4 separate regions of the Homo sapiens genome follow, and all the other regions are linked to region 4. Evidence: promoter capture Hi-C in 16 types of primary human blood cells and fetal thymus (Javierre and others, 2016). All regions are on one chromosome and are shown on one strand. Each heading gives the region's core, a stretch centred on a gene start or on the middle of the fragment in contact. The rest is flanking DNA. Distances are from core to core; before and after follow the strand shown.

What was found. Contacts are between HindIII fragments. The CHiCAGO score rates a contact against its expected background, and 5 or more counts as called.
Region 1: a contact is called between a fragment that was not itself captured here and the fragment with the promoter of GSPT1 in region 4, in 2 of 17 cell types (neutrophils and naive CD4 T cells). The highest score is 5.9, in neutrophils.
Region 2: a fragment that was not itself captured here is called in contact with the fragment with the promoter of GSPT1 in region 4 in 1 of 17 cell types (neutrophils); the score reaches 5.4 in neutrophils.
Region 3: a contact is called between a fragment that was not itself captured here and the fragment with the promoter of GSPT1 in region 4, in 4 of 17 cell types (neutrophils, naive CD4 T cells, total CD4 T cells and 1 more). The highest score is 7.3, in neutrophils.

Annotation. Positions count from the first base shown.
Region 1 is chr16:11,259,623-11,263,217 of GRCh38, forward strand. All of the region lies in intron 1 of LOC105371082 (a long non-coding RNA gene), which reads left to right. Among named protein-coding and RNA genes, the nearest start is that of SOCS1, 5.2 kb to the left of the region's middle. The HindIII fragment of the contact is 6,308 bases long and covers 1-3,595 here.
Region 2 is chr16:11,368,125-11,371,390 of GRCh38, forward strand. All of the region lies in intron 1 of LOC105371082 (a long non-coding RNA gene), which reads left to right. Among named protein-coding and RNA genes, the nearest start is that of RMI2, 24 kb to the left of the region's middle. RefSeq lists enhancers at 2,356-2,415, 2,601-3,101. The HindIII fragment of the contact is 1,153 bases long and covers 1,333-2,485 here.
Region 3 is chr16:11,350,900-11,354,226 of GRCh38, forward strand. It overlaps RMI2 (RecQ mediated genome instability 2), which reads left to right. Exons shown (of 2, transcript NM_152308.3): 2 at 1-861. The region is part of intron 1 of LOC105371082 (a long non-coding RNA gene); the gene reads left to right. Among named protein-coding and RNA genes, the nearest start is that of RMI2, 7.1 kb to the left of the region's middle. The HindIII fragment of the contact is 2,616 bases long and covers 1-2,558 here.
Region 4 is chr16:11,914,366-11,917,662 of GRCh38, forward strand. It overlaps GSPT1 (G1 to S phase transition 1), which reads right to left and starts at 1,591. Exons shown (of 15, transcript NM_002094.4): 1 at 1,004-1,591. The coding sequence starts at 1,355. RefSeq lists silencers at 721-770, 811-1,050, 1,141-1,210, 1,921-1,980 and enhancers at 1,035-1,972, 1,581-1,730, 3,031-3,297. The HindIII fragment of the contact is 2,427 bases long and covers 290-2,716 here.

The DNA.
Region 1 (3,595 bases), core at 1,049-3,548, 650 kb before region 4:
CTTCTTAGCTTTTCTGTGCCTCAGTTTCCATATTTGCAAGATGGGATAATAACATATCTATTTCACTTCTTCAGTATTTATTCAGCAGATATTTACTGAGTTCTTACTGTGTGCCAGGCGCAGGGGACTCAGAGGTCTTCAGGCAGACCTAGGGGAGTCAGTGAATTCACACCATCAGTGCAGACCATACTGGGTGCTATGTGGGAAAGAAACAGAGAGAAAGGGGTGACTGGGTGTTTGTAAGGTGAGATAAGGAAGTTAGGGAAAGCCTCTTGGAGGTGGTGACATTAGCACTGACGTCTTTCTAAAAGTGGGATGAAGACCCCAGGTGGCGAGAACAGCCAGTGCAAAGGCCCTGTGGTGGGGGTGCTTGAAGATAGGAAAGGAGAGTTGGTATAGCGAGCCAGGGGGTGGTGTAGGGGTGAGGCATAGGGGTTGGCAGGGTCTGATCCATCAGGCACGGCCTTGCTGGGCTGTGGCAGGGCTTTGGATTTTGCCCTGAGTGCATGGACCAGCCATCCAGGCCCAAGCGACAGCATAGGACTGAGTGTGGAAAGAACCTTCTAGCTGCTGACCTTCCCAGCTGCTGGGCTTTAGCCACGATGAGCTGTAGTAGTGGCCTTGGGACACTTTCCCATGGTCCTGTGAATTGGAAATTATGTGTTTCCCTTGATCAGATGAGGAGAGCACAACTCAGGGAACTGGTGGAACTTGGTGAAGGTGTTTTGGGGAGCCCTGGGGCTTGGCAGAACCTGGCCTGAAGTCCTCTGTCGGGAGAGGTTGCTTTGATGTTTGGAGTAGATCCTTTCTGCTCCCACCACAGGAACGATTGTGTGTCTCAGTGGCGGGTAGAGGGGTGTGAGCTCAGAGGACCTGAGTCCAAGGAGAAGGTGTGAGAGGCCAGGGAACGATGGCATGAGCCAGTGGCTGACTCCAAAGTGGCGCCAGTCCTGGAGACTTGATGAGACTCTTCTAGCAGGCACAGGTGAAGAAAGGAGAGGTGAAGTCAGCTGTTACTTGAAGTAGTCAGTAGTCACTGGCTTTCAGAAAGCAGTCAAGATTGTTTCGTTAACAGCTGCAAAATAGGAGGGGCAGGAAAGTAGAATTCTAGGAATGCTGGTGGAGGGGTCCAGACACACCTGCTTCCAGTCCCAGCTCCCCTCCCCATCAGCTGTGTGGCTTCAGGCAAGTTGACTGAATCCAGTGGTCCAGAGAACTCTCACAAAGCCCGAGCCTGGGAAGCACAGTGCCTGTTCCTCAGTAAATCCCTTGGGATCTTTGTCGTGGCCTATTCACTCCATTTTTGCACAGTATTCCAACAAGCCTAACAGGTTTCTACCCACCCCACCCCATCCCATAAGTGACAAATTAGGTGTCAGCAGCTGACAGCAAGGACCAGTAGCGGTGACATAGGGGGCAAAGAACTTGCAGAAACTATGAAACTAGGCACAAGAGCTAGCACGCAGCAGGCTGGGGACGTTAGAGTGTGGAGCAGGAAGATTCCTCATGTCCATGGGCCCTCACTGTGGTGATGCTGTTGAGAATGTCGGGTATCGCAATGAGAGGTAGAATAGGGCCCAGTTCTCTCTGAGGAGGCGTCTGGTCTCAGGGCACACAGAGCAGCAGCAGTCTCCTCCCATGCCACGATGTGGGAAGCCCAGCGTCTACTGGCCCAATTGGCAGTGCCCTGAACAGGCTCAGGGAGGGGTAACCCTCAACCGAGTTGTAAAGAGTGAGCATCACGGCCGGGCGCAGTGGCTCACGCCTGTAATCCCAGCACTTTGGGAGGCGGAGGCAGGCAGATCACGAGGTCAGGAGATGGAGACCATCCTGGCTAACACGGTGAAACGCCGTCTCTACTAAAAATACAAAAAATTAGCCGGGCGTGGTGGTGGGCGCCTGTAGTCCCAGCTACTTGGGAGGCTGAGGCCGGAGAATGGCGTGAACCCAGGAGGCGGAGCTTGCAGTGAGCAGAGATGGCGCCACTGCACTGCAGCCTGGGCGACAGAGCAAGACTCCATCTCAAAAAAAAAAAGAGTGAGCATCACTTGAGTTCAGGAGTTCAAGACCAGCCTGGGCAGCATGACAAAACCCCATCTCTACAAAAATATGAAAAAATTAGTTGGGCATGGTGACACATACCTGTGGTCCCTGCTACTTGGGAGCCTCAGGTGGGAGGATCACTTGAGCTCGGAAGACAGAGATGGCAGTGAGCTGAGATCACACCACTGCACTCCAGCCCGGGTGACTTAGGGAGACCCTGTCTCAAAAAAAAAAAAAAAAAAAAAAAAAAAAAAAAGAGCTCTCACCAAGGGAACGGAGGGAGAACATATTCCGGGCAGAGCATGACAAGAATGTGAGGCCCTGGGCAGAGCATGAGGCCAAAGGTAAGCCGGACACCCCAAGGCAGCCCTAGTGGCTTCTAGGAGGAGACTCGTCTGGAGGAAGGGAGAGGGCTGGACTGGACCTCTGCCTGCCCTGGAGTAATGAGTCCCTCTGTGGGAGAGCGTTCTGGGTCACCTTGCCCAAACCAGCAAGCCCAGAGCAGGGGCTGATGTTATATCCACATGCCTTTACTGCCTCTCCAGATTCAACAGAGCTTCGCTGAGCACCCATTAGACACATTCACTGATGCTCATTCCTTTTTTATCCTCTTTTTCCTTCAATTTTCCTCCCTCTAGGTAACCCAGGCACCAGCTTGGTCTGTTCTTTGGGATCTTTTTTATTTTTATTTTTATTTTTTGATACTGGGTCTCCCTCTGTCACTCAGGCTGGGGTGCAGTGGCGTGAACACAGCTCACTGCAGCCTTGACACCCCCACCCCACCCCCACTGTGCTCAAGCAATCCTCCTGACTCAGCTTCCCATGTAGGTGGCACGCATTGCCATGCCCAGCTAATTTTTTCATTTTTAGGGAGACAGAGTCTCACTTTGTTTCCTAGGCTGGTCTCAAACTCCTGGCTTCAAGTGATCCTCCCGCGTGGGCCTCGCAAAGCGCTGAGATTATAGGCATAAGCCACTGCTCCCACCCTGGGATCTTTTTCTATGCATCTACATGCTTGTATTTTGACCCATAAAAATTATGTTCCTTGGCCAGGTGTGGTGGCTCATGCCTGTAATCCTAGCGCTTTGGGAGGTCGAGCTGGGAGGATCACTTGTGGTCAGTTCGAGGCTGTGGTGAGCTATGATTGTGCCACTGCACTCCAGCCGAGGTGACAGAGCAAGACCCCAATTATTTAAAAAAAAAAAATAGTATTCCTTTGTGTAGGACTTTTCCCTCTATCAATGTCATGTCTTTCTCCATCTTGCACTTTCCACCCAACAGATACTCTGGCAATCTGGCTAGATCACATATAGATCGACCCCATGCTCCTTAAGAACTGCATGATACTCCTCAGCGTATGTTCATTTAGCCGTCCCCGGTGGGTGGACACATAGGTTGTATTTTTGCTCTTGCAAACAGCGTGGCCTGCACCTCCCTGTACAGCCTCTTGGCACACATGTGATAAACCGTTCTTACCGTTTGAATGTTCATAGGTGCCACCCAGTCACCTGCCAGCGTGCTGTGCACATTTACCTTCTGGGCAAAAGCATTC
Region 2 (3,266 bases), core at 659-3,158, 550 kb before region 4:
ATTACAGGTGTGTGTGACCATGCCTGGCTAATTTTTGTTTGTTTCAGATGGAGTCTTGCTCTGTCGCCCAGGCTGCAGTGCAGTGGCACGATCTTGGCTCACTGCAACCTCTGCCTCCTGGGTTCAAGTGATTCTCCTGCCTCAGCCTCCCGAGTAGCTGGGATTACAGGTGCCCACTACCTGTGACACCCAGCTAATTTTTTTTGGACTTTTAGTAGAGATGGGGTTTCACCATGTTGGCTAGGCTCGTCTCGAACTCCTGACCTCAGGTTATCCACCTGCCTTGGCCTACCAAAGTGCTGGGATTACAGGCGTGAGCCACTGTGTCCAGCCCCATAAGGTAGATTTATATTCACCTTTTAAGAAACCGCCAAACTGTGTTTTGGAGTTGCCATGCCGCCACGTTCCCCCCAGCATGTGTGGAGCCTCCATTTCCACACACCCCCTCTTGATATTGATGTGACATCTTTTTAATGTTGAACGTTTCTCGATAACACATGCAGCATGGCCTTCTTTGCATTCAAAGTGTTTCATATCCCTCAGCAGCATTTGAAAGATTTCTTCATATGGATTGTGTGTGTATATTTTTGCACATTTATTTCTGAGAATTTTGTTTTTTGGGAGTGTGCTGTTGCAAATGGGATGTTTTCTTCTGTTAACTTTTCTAACTGCTTGTTTGTACATAGGAGGACTGAGGCCAGCCTTGGTGGCTCACATCTATAATCCTAGCACTTAGGGAGACTGAGGCAGAAGGACTGCTCGAGCCCAGGAGTTTGAGACCAGCCTGGGCATCATAGTAAGACCGCATCTTTATGTTATTTTTTTTTTGAGACAGGGTCTTTCTTTGTCACCCAGGCTAAGTGCAGTAATGCAGTCCCGGTTCACTGCAACCTCCATGTCCTGGGTTCAAGCAATTCTCATGCCTCAGCCTTCTGAGTACCCGGTATTACAGGTGTGTGCCATCACACCCAGCTAATTTTTGTATTATTAGTAGAGGTGGAGTTTTGCCATGTTGGCCAGGCTGGTACCGAACTCCTGGCCTCGAGCAATCCGCCTCTCTCGGCCTCCCAAAGTGCTGGGATTACAGGCGTGAGCTGTGCCCGGCCCCATCTCTATATTTTAAAAATTAAGAAAAAGGAAGGCTGCTTATTATGTTACTTTTGTACCTAACTCCTTAGCAAAATCTGTCTGCCTCATTTTTCAGAGTAAATTATTTTACCTCCTGCTTTTTTCTTAAATGTCTTACTTTCCTCCTTGCCTAGTTTCATCAGCTAGGGCCTCCAAAATAATAGTGGTAACAGAGGGCATTCTTTTGTTGCGAAGGTTAATGGAAGCTTCTGTTGCTTCCATCCCCTATAAATGATGCTGGGCTCTGGCTTGATGGGTGTGTGTCTGGGTGTAATTTCCTTTATCGTGTGTAATTTAAGGAAGTATCCCTCTTTCTAATTTGATGTGTTTTTTTCTAAATTTTGTAGTAAATTTTGTCAAATGCCTTTTCAACATCTACGATGATTATGATTTTTAACATATTAATATGAATGAAATTAGGCTGGGCGCAGTGGCTCACACCTGTAATCCCAGCACTTTGGGAGGCTGAGGCAGGCAGATCACAAGGTCAGGAGGTCAAGACCATCCTGGCTAACATGGTGAAACCCCATCTCTTCTAAAAATACAAAAAAGCTAGTCAGGTGTGGTGGCGGACGCCTGTAGTCCCGGGAGGGTGAGGCAGGAGAACTGAGTGAACCCAGGAAGCGGAGCTTGCAGTGAGCCTAGATCGCACCACTGCACTCCAGCCTGGGCAATAGAGCGAGACTCCATCTCAGGAAAAAAAAAAAAAAAAAAAAAATATGTGTGTATATATATATATATATATATATATATATATATATTTGAAATTAAAAGATGTTCTAATTTTGAGCTATCCTTGTCACACTGTACAATTCTCACTTGGTTTAGGTCACTTTTTTTTTAAGGCCCCAGTGGGGTTTGTTTGGTAATATTTTATTTTGGATTTTCTTACCTTGATTTGTATGTAAACATCTTACCTTGTTTTGTTTTGGAGATAGGGCCTTGCTCTGATGCCCAGGCTGGAGTGCAGTGGTGTGATCATAGTTGATTGTGATTTTGAACTCCTGGGCTCAAGTGATCCTCCTGCCTCAGCCTCCTAGACAGGCATGTGCCACCATGCCTGGCTAATGATTAAATTTTTTTAGAGACAGAGTCTTGCTATGTTGTCCAGGCTGGAGTTCAGTGTATATTGTAGACGTGAATTGGTCTTTCCGCTGGAATCATTCCCTCTCCTATCTGTTTCAAATTCATGCATAAGTACTCCACCCACACCCCCCAGTTGGAAAGTATTGATGTTGTCCAACCTGCCTTGAGAAGGGAGAACTATGTTTCCCTCTTTGTATCTCTGCTGGTGTCCAGTCCACTGCTGTGTTTTTGGTAAATACTTGACCCATAGAATGTGGGAGGCAGGAAGGAAAGCTTCTGCGTTTCCTTTCTGGACCAGAAATCATGGATCCGTTAAGCATATTGAGAAACCAACAGGTCAGGTGGCTGCACACTCTAGTTGCATCTGACTCTGAATTGCTCATGGGCCCCTGAGCACCAGTGATTTGCTTTTCTTTTATTGCAAAAGCAGAAGTGGGGGTTGAGTGAGCTTGGGCAGCCTTGGGAGGCAGGCAGGCCCGCGTCAGTGCCATCCTGGCTGTTTGTAGCTTGTATGACCTTGGGGAAATCCCCTCAACTCTCTGAGCCTTTGTTTCTTCTCTCATTAAGTGGGGATCATCCGTTCCTCATTGGACTATTGTAAGGCCTAAGATCAAACTTTTTTTTTTTTTTTTTTTTTGAGATGGAGCCTTCGCTCTGTCGCCCAGGCTACAGTGCAGTGGCACGATCTCCGCTCACTGCAAGCTCCACCTCCCGTGTTCACGCCATTCTCCTGCCCCAACCTCCCAAGTAGCTGGGACTACAGGAGCCCGCCACCTCACTCGGCTAATTTTTTGTATGTTTAGTAGAGACGGGGTTTCACCGTGTTAGCCAAGATGGTCTCGATTTGCTGACCTCATGATCCACCCACCTTGGCCTCCCAAAGTGCTGGGATTACAGGCGTGACCCACTGTGCCCGACCCAAACTTTTTTTTTTTTTTTTTGAGACGGAGTCTCACTCTGTCGCCAGGCTGGAGTGCAGTGGTGTGATCTTGGCTCACTGCAGTCTCCGCCTCCTGGGTTCAAGCAGTTCTCTGCCTCAGCCTCCTGGGTAG
Region 3 (3,327 bases), core at 1-2,500, 560 kb before region 4:
TCAGAGAGCCTTGCTTTGGTTGACCAAGGAGTCCGGATGTAGGAATGTTTAAATCCTCGGATACTTCAGTGACACAGCCTCTGCTGCCCCTTGCTTTGCCTGTGTTTGCTGATGAAAAGCAGATGCTTGTGTTTCATTTTCCTTCCTGGTTTGTGTGTGTTAATTCTCTCTCTCTCTCTCAGACACAGAAGTCTCATGTTGCATTTTCCAAATTTTATGAGTGATGATACTTTTTCCATTACTGCTGCGTCCCTGTTTTACAATGCAAAATTTAAGTACGGTCGTTGCCCATGGTGATTAAAGTGTGGTTATGGGCAGGAAGACAGACTGTGTAAAAAAGGAATGACATCCTGGCTCCTCATCTTCTTCATCAGCAACTACCATAACCAGTTTGCGAGTCAAATGGCATTTCCTAACGGCAGGCATGGCGGCCCCTGAAAGACAACAGCTCCCTTTCTGCTTCGGACACCACTCAAACATTTAGACGCAGCTCTATCCCTTTTCCTAGCTAGAGAAGGTGATGCCTTCTTCCATTACTCAGAGATGTTGAGACGTTTTCAGAATTTCTTGTTGAAATGAAAAACATCAAGATAAAGGACGCCTTTCAGGCATTAGCTAAACTTCCACTTCATAACTTTCGGCGAGACATGGTGAGCCTCCTGGTGTAGAGTTCTTTTGTCTTTGTATGGAATGACTTTTTGCTGTGATGGTTTTGAATGTTGGGTTTCTGCTGTCTGCTTAGTACCCATGCCTGAATTTTTTGAGATTGTAAATATCAAAGGAGTTAGATTGTGTTCTGACATGGTTGTAGACTTTCACCTGGATTATTGATATTCTACCTCTAATAAATTTTTAATAGGCTGTATGAGTTTTTTTTTTTAATGGACTTAAGAAAACAGTTTTAGGTGTTCAGGAAAATAGAGGAGAAACTACAGCGTTCGCATATACTCCACACACCCCACTCCCAGTTTTTCCAGCTATGAACATCTTTTATTAGGATGGTACATTTGATAAACCAACATTACATTCTTATTAACTAAAGTTTAGTTTACATTAGGCTTTATTCCTTCTCTTATACATTCTGTGGATTTTGCCAAATGCATAATAACATGTATCCACCACTACAGTATCGTCCAGAATAGCTTCACTGCCCTAAAAATCCTCTGGGTTCCCCTTATTCACCCCTCCCCACCAACCCTGACAGTCACTGATCTTTCTTTTCAGTTTTGCCTTTTCCAGAATATCATATAGTTGGATCATACAGTAAGTAATTTTTTCAGACTGGCTTCTTTCATTTACTATGCATATAAGATTCCTCCATATCTTTTTTTTTTTTTCTTTTTTAAGACAATCTCAGTCTTGCCCAGGCTGGAGTGCAAGGGCACAATCACAGCTCACCACAGCCTCAACCTCTCAGGCTCAGGATCCTCCCATCTCAGCCTCTCAGGTAGCAGGACTACAGGTGCGCATCACCTTGCCTGGTTAATTTTTTTGTATTTTTTGTAGAGACAAGGTTTTGCCATGTTGCCCAGGCTGGTCTCAAACTCCTGGGCTCAAGCAATCTTCCCATCTTGGCCTCCCAAAGTGCTGGGATTACAGGTGTGAGCCATTGTGTCTGGACTCCTCCAGGTCTTTTTGCAGCTTGTTAGCTTTTTTTTTTTTTTTTTTTTTTCAATAAATGCCCGTGCTTATTACAAGATAGAAACATGAAGAATTCCTTAGGTACTGTTTTTTTTTTTTTTTTTTTTTTTGAGACAGAGTCTAACCCTGTCACCCAGGCTGGAGTGCAGTGGTGTGATCTCTGCTCACTGCAACCTCTGCCTCCCGGGTTCAAGCGATTCTCCCGCCTCAGCCTCCTGAGTAGCTGGGATTACAGATGTGTGCCACCACACCCAGCTAATTTATTTATTTATTTATTTTGAGTTTTTTATTTTTGTTTGTTTGTTTAAGATGGGGCCTTGCCCTGTCACCCAGGCTGGCGTACAGTGGCGTGAACGTGGCTTACTGCAGCCTCAACCTCCCAAACTCAAGCAATCCTCCCATGTCATCCTCCTGAGTAGCTGGTACTACAGGCACAAATTCCTCGGCTCAAGCAATCCTCCCACCTTGGCCTCCCAAAGTGCTGGGATTACAGGTATGAGCCACCACGCCCAGCCAGCTCATTTCTTTTTATCACTGAATAATGTTCCATTGTATGGATGTACCATAGTTTTATCTAATCCACCTATTGAAGGACATCTTGACTCCAGTCTCTGATAACTATGAATAGAGCTGCTGTAAACATTCATGCCCAGGTTTTGAGTGGGTGTAAGTTTTCAGCTCATTGGGGTAAATGCCTAGGAGTGCAATTGCTGGGCCATATGGTAGACCTATGGTTAGCCTTGTAGAAACTGCCAGTCTGCTTTTGCATTCTCACCAGCAATGAAGGGGAGTCACTGTTCCACATCGTCTCCAGCACTGAGTGTTGTCAGTGTCTCGGGTGTGCTGTGCTTTTAAACTATTTTCTTTTTAAAGCCGGGCAGATTGGAAAGTATGCATCATTTTTGTTGCCCACAAGAAGCTTGTTTTGAACTGTTTTATGTTCACAGTTTGGGATTTTTCGGGCAATATTGCTGAGCTTTAACAGGAACTTTGCAGTCCTGTCAACCTGAATTTGAGCCCTTCATTTGCAAGTAACCTTGCCGTGTGACTATGAGCAAGGTACGTAACCTCTCCATTGTTCAGTTTCTTTATCTGTAAAATGCAGATTATGCCCAGCTCATAGCACTGGTGTGAGGAATAAATGAAGATGTAGATCACTTTTACATGGTATGTGACACTTGGTAGGCACCAAATCATTATTGCTGGGAGGATCAGTATGTTCTTGCTTGTCTACACACACACATACACACACACACACACGAGAGAGAGAGAGAGAGAAATTGCAAAGATAGTACAAAGAGTTCCCATATACCTGTACCCAGCTTCCCCTATTATTAACATGTTAGTATAGTGCATTTGTTAAAATTCATGAACCAATATTGAGATGTTATTAACCCAAGTCTGTACTTCATTCAGATTTCTCTGGGTTTTTCCTAATGTTCTTTCCTGTTCCAGGGTCCCATCCGGGACACCACATTCCATTTCGTCATCATGTCTCCCTAGGTGCTCTCCCTGGCTGGGTCGTTCAATCAGTTGCTTTTAATTGCATTTAAATTTAATTTTGGTGCAGACAGTGAGATCTGTTACAGAATTCTTAGGTTAAAACTTAGTCACAATGGCTGGGTGCAGTGGCTCACGCCTGTAATTGAAACACTTTGAGAGGTCGAGGCAGGCTGATCACTGGAG
Region 4 (3,297 bases), core at 341-2,840:
ACCTGCAAGCATGCTACCTACGACTTAAGCAACCCCTAAGTACGGGAAGATGTTTAAAAACCAAAGTTAACTCGAAATTTTATGGATTAGAAAATGTATGTCTACTAGCTACGGTCAGAAAGACACGTGAGAACTATTAAATTATAACAAATGCTCAAGTGTCTGAAGAAATAGACTGAACTACTGATGCACGAACACAGTGAGTTATTCCAAGCAATCTGAATAAGGTCAACGATTTTACAGCAATGAAAATTCTCTAAACGTGTCGCTGACAAAGGATAAAAGTGTAAGCTTCACTTTAAAAAGACACAAATCAATATAGTCTCCTATCACACATTAAGTGAGGAATCCTAACTTTGTGGCACTTTGTAAACTTTAGAAGCGTACACAATGCTAAGGGTAAAACAGATCTTGGTATTGATAGCCAAGTTTCTGCCCGATCACAAGGCTGCAATGCATCTTGGGATTCCTTCAGGACGGTTGGGGGCCACGGACAGTTTAAACCGTAATTACAGTTTCAATAGTAGAAAACGCAGCAGAAGACGCTCTCTCGGCTGGGCCTAAGGTGAAAGGAAAACTCGGCCATTCGTCCTCCCCAACTCCTGGGATCTCTAAACGCCCACCCAAATGACTCCTGGCTCCATCTGTCCTCATTCTGCGCCTCGTGGCAGGGATCCGCCGCGGCCCCCACTCCGTTCCATACGGTTCCCATCTCAAGTGGGTAACTGCGGACTCCAGAGCAGGGCAGGGGCGCGGAGGGGCGGCACTCGGGTCCGGGTCTTTGGGCGCGCTGCCCGCTGTCCGCTCCCCGCCCGGCCACCGCCGCGGGCCGCCCCGCGAAGGCCGGCTCCCGGGCTCGGGGCGCCCCACCCAGGCAGACGGCGCCACTGTCAGCGCCCCACGTGCCGACCGGGCCCCAGGGCCGCGCGCCCCCGGACCGCACCCCTACGCCATGTGGGCTCCGGCGCCCGGCCGGACTTCCTCCCGCGTCCCGGGCCTTTACCCGCACGGCCTCCCGCGCCGCTGCCGGCTCCGTGGTTATTGGCGGCGCCGCCAACTGGGGGTGGCGGCGCTGCCGGGCCCCGCAGGAAGGACGGCACGAACTCGGCGGCGTGGACGTTGGGCACGAAGGGCTTGGCGTTGACGTTGAGTTGCCGGCTGAAGGCCGCGCTGAGGTTCTCCCGCTGGGCCTCGGCCGCCGCCGCCAGGGAGCCGCCGCCGCCGCAAGGGCCCGGCCCGGGGGCTTCCATGTCCGCCTGGTCCCAGCAGTCAGGCGCCGAGTCGCTGCTGCTGCTGCCGCTGCTGCTCCCGCCGCCGCCGCCGCCGCCGCCGCCGCCGCCACTGCCCGGATCCATGATCGGGGGGGCCGTGTGTGTGGTGGACAGAGAGCGGGAAATGGAGGCAGGGGCGCCCGGCCGGAGAGGAGTGGGCAACGCTGACTGAGGGAAGGCGGCGGGGCAGAAGGGCCGGGAGCTAGCGACAAAGATCCCCGGCGTCGCCGCGGCAGCAGCTCCAGTCCCGACTCCACACTCGCGACGACGACAGAGGCGGCGGCGGCGGCAGCTCAACCCTCCTCCTCGTGTGTGTGAGCGGATCTCCTCCCACCCAACCACCTCCGACGGCCTCACAGCCAACCCCACCCCCGGCGCGGATTGACCCCTCGCCGCCACCCGTACCTTCGCCTCGGTAGTTCTCTGTTCTGGCCGCCCCCGTTTCCGGCTATTTAGCGCGGCGGGAGGTGGAACTACAAGTTCCGGCAGCGCCCGCGCTACCCCGCTGCGGTTTTCCCGGGGGCCGACGGGAGTCGAAGTTCAGGGACAGGGCGCAACCGGAAGCGGCTCCGGCTCCCGGCAGGCAACGCGAGGAGGCGGAGGTCTGGTGGCCGCTCGGCGGCCCCACCTGTCACCTGGTGGGGGGGCAGCGGCAGGCCCTGGTTGGTGCAGCTCTGTGCTGGGCCGAAGACCGAGAGTATTTTAGCCCATAGGAGGGGTCCACTCTGGCCTGCTGGACACAGGCTGGGGGAAAACGGACAGCATCTATAACATGGGGAAGAAAAATACACTCAGCTCCCGAAAATTCTTGTACTCTCTTTTCACCACCTTTCCTGCGTTCTCTGCCTCACAGTCTCCGTACCTTATTCTCTCTCCACCTTCTTTCTCCTCACCCCCAGCCAGATTTTGCCCTTCATTTCAAAGCCGGTGCAGATTGCAAAGCTGATTTCATTTTATGTAATCATTTCGTGGAAGAAACAATAAAACCGTGAGATATTCCGGCTTAAAACTGCAGTGTGGCTCATAAAGCGCTGGGGCCCAGGCTCTGCCCAGGCAGAAGGGATTGTTAACTGGAAAATTTCAATGACTCACCGTTTGTTTGACTAGTCATATAAAGCCTTCACCCAAATTTTTCCATCCTTTCCTCCTCCCCGCCAAAGGGTTTGCAAATTAAACAGAGGATTGCCGTATTCCATGGTGTATCCGGCTTACCTAACAGGGTTATTTTGGTGAGTCTAGCTTCCTTATGCACCATTACGTGAAGTGGTTTCCTTTTGAATGGTCTGATTTGCTCAAGAATTCCCATAGTACTTTTCATCGACTGCATCTTACACTTACAGATTAGGTAAACCTGGGAAAAGAACAAAAGCAAACGAGAAATACTTAAGAGTTCGCATTTAGGCCCTTCATGAAGTAGGAAAAAATGTTGCTCTGAGTACCTGTTAAGCTTTCCTGTAATTCACCCATGTGGAGCCCAAGACAGAGAAAAACATATTGTTAGTATTTTTCTGAAAGGAGTCTAGACAGGGTGCAACTAATCTGCCTAGAAATTACAGACTAAAGAAGCACATACATAGAATAGATGTTTCTGAACAACCTTAGGTTGTTAAAAAAAAAAAAAACCTAACAAAATCCAGATCTAGATCTGTATTTTAATTTTCTTTTTTCTTTTTTTTGAGACGGAGTCTTGCTCTGTAGCCCAGGCTGGAGTGCAGTGGCGCGATGTCGGCTCGCTGCAAGCCCGCCTCCCGGGTTCACAACATTCTCCTGCCTCAGTCTCCGGAGTAGCTGGGACTAGAGGCGCCCGCCATCACGCCCGGCTAATTTTTTTTGTATTGTTATTAGAGACGAGGTTTACACCGTGTTAGACAGGATGGTCTGGATCTCCTGACCTCGTGATCCGCTCGTCTCGGCCTCCCAAAGTGCTGGGATTACAGGCGTGAGCCACCGCGCCCGGCCGATCTGTATTTTAATTTTAAACATCTGTATTGTAAAGATAAAAGAGAACTCAGCCTAATGAGATAGG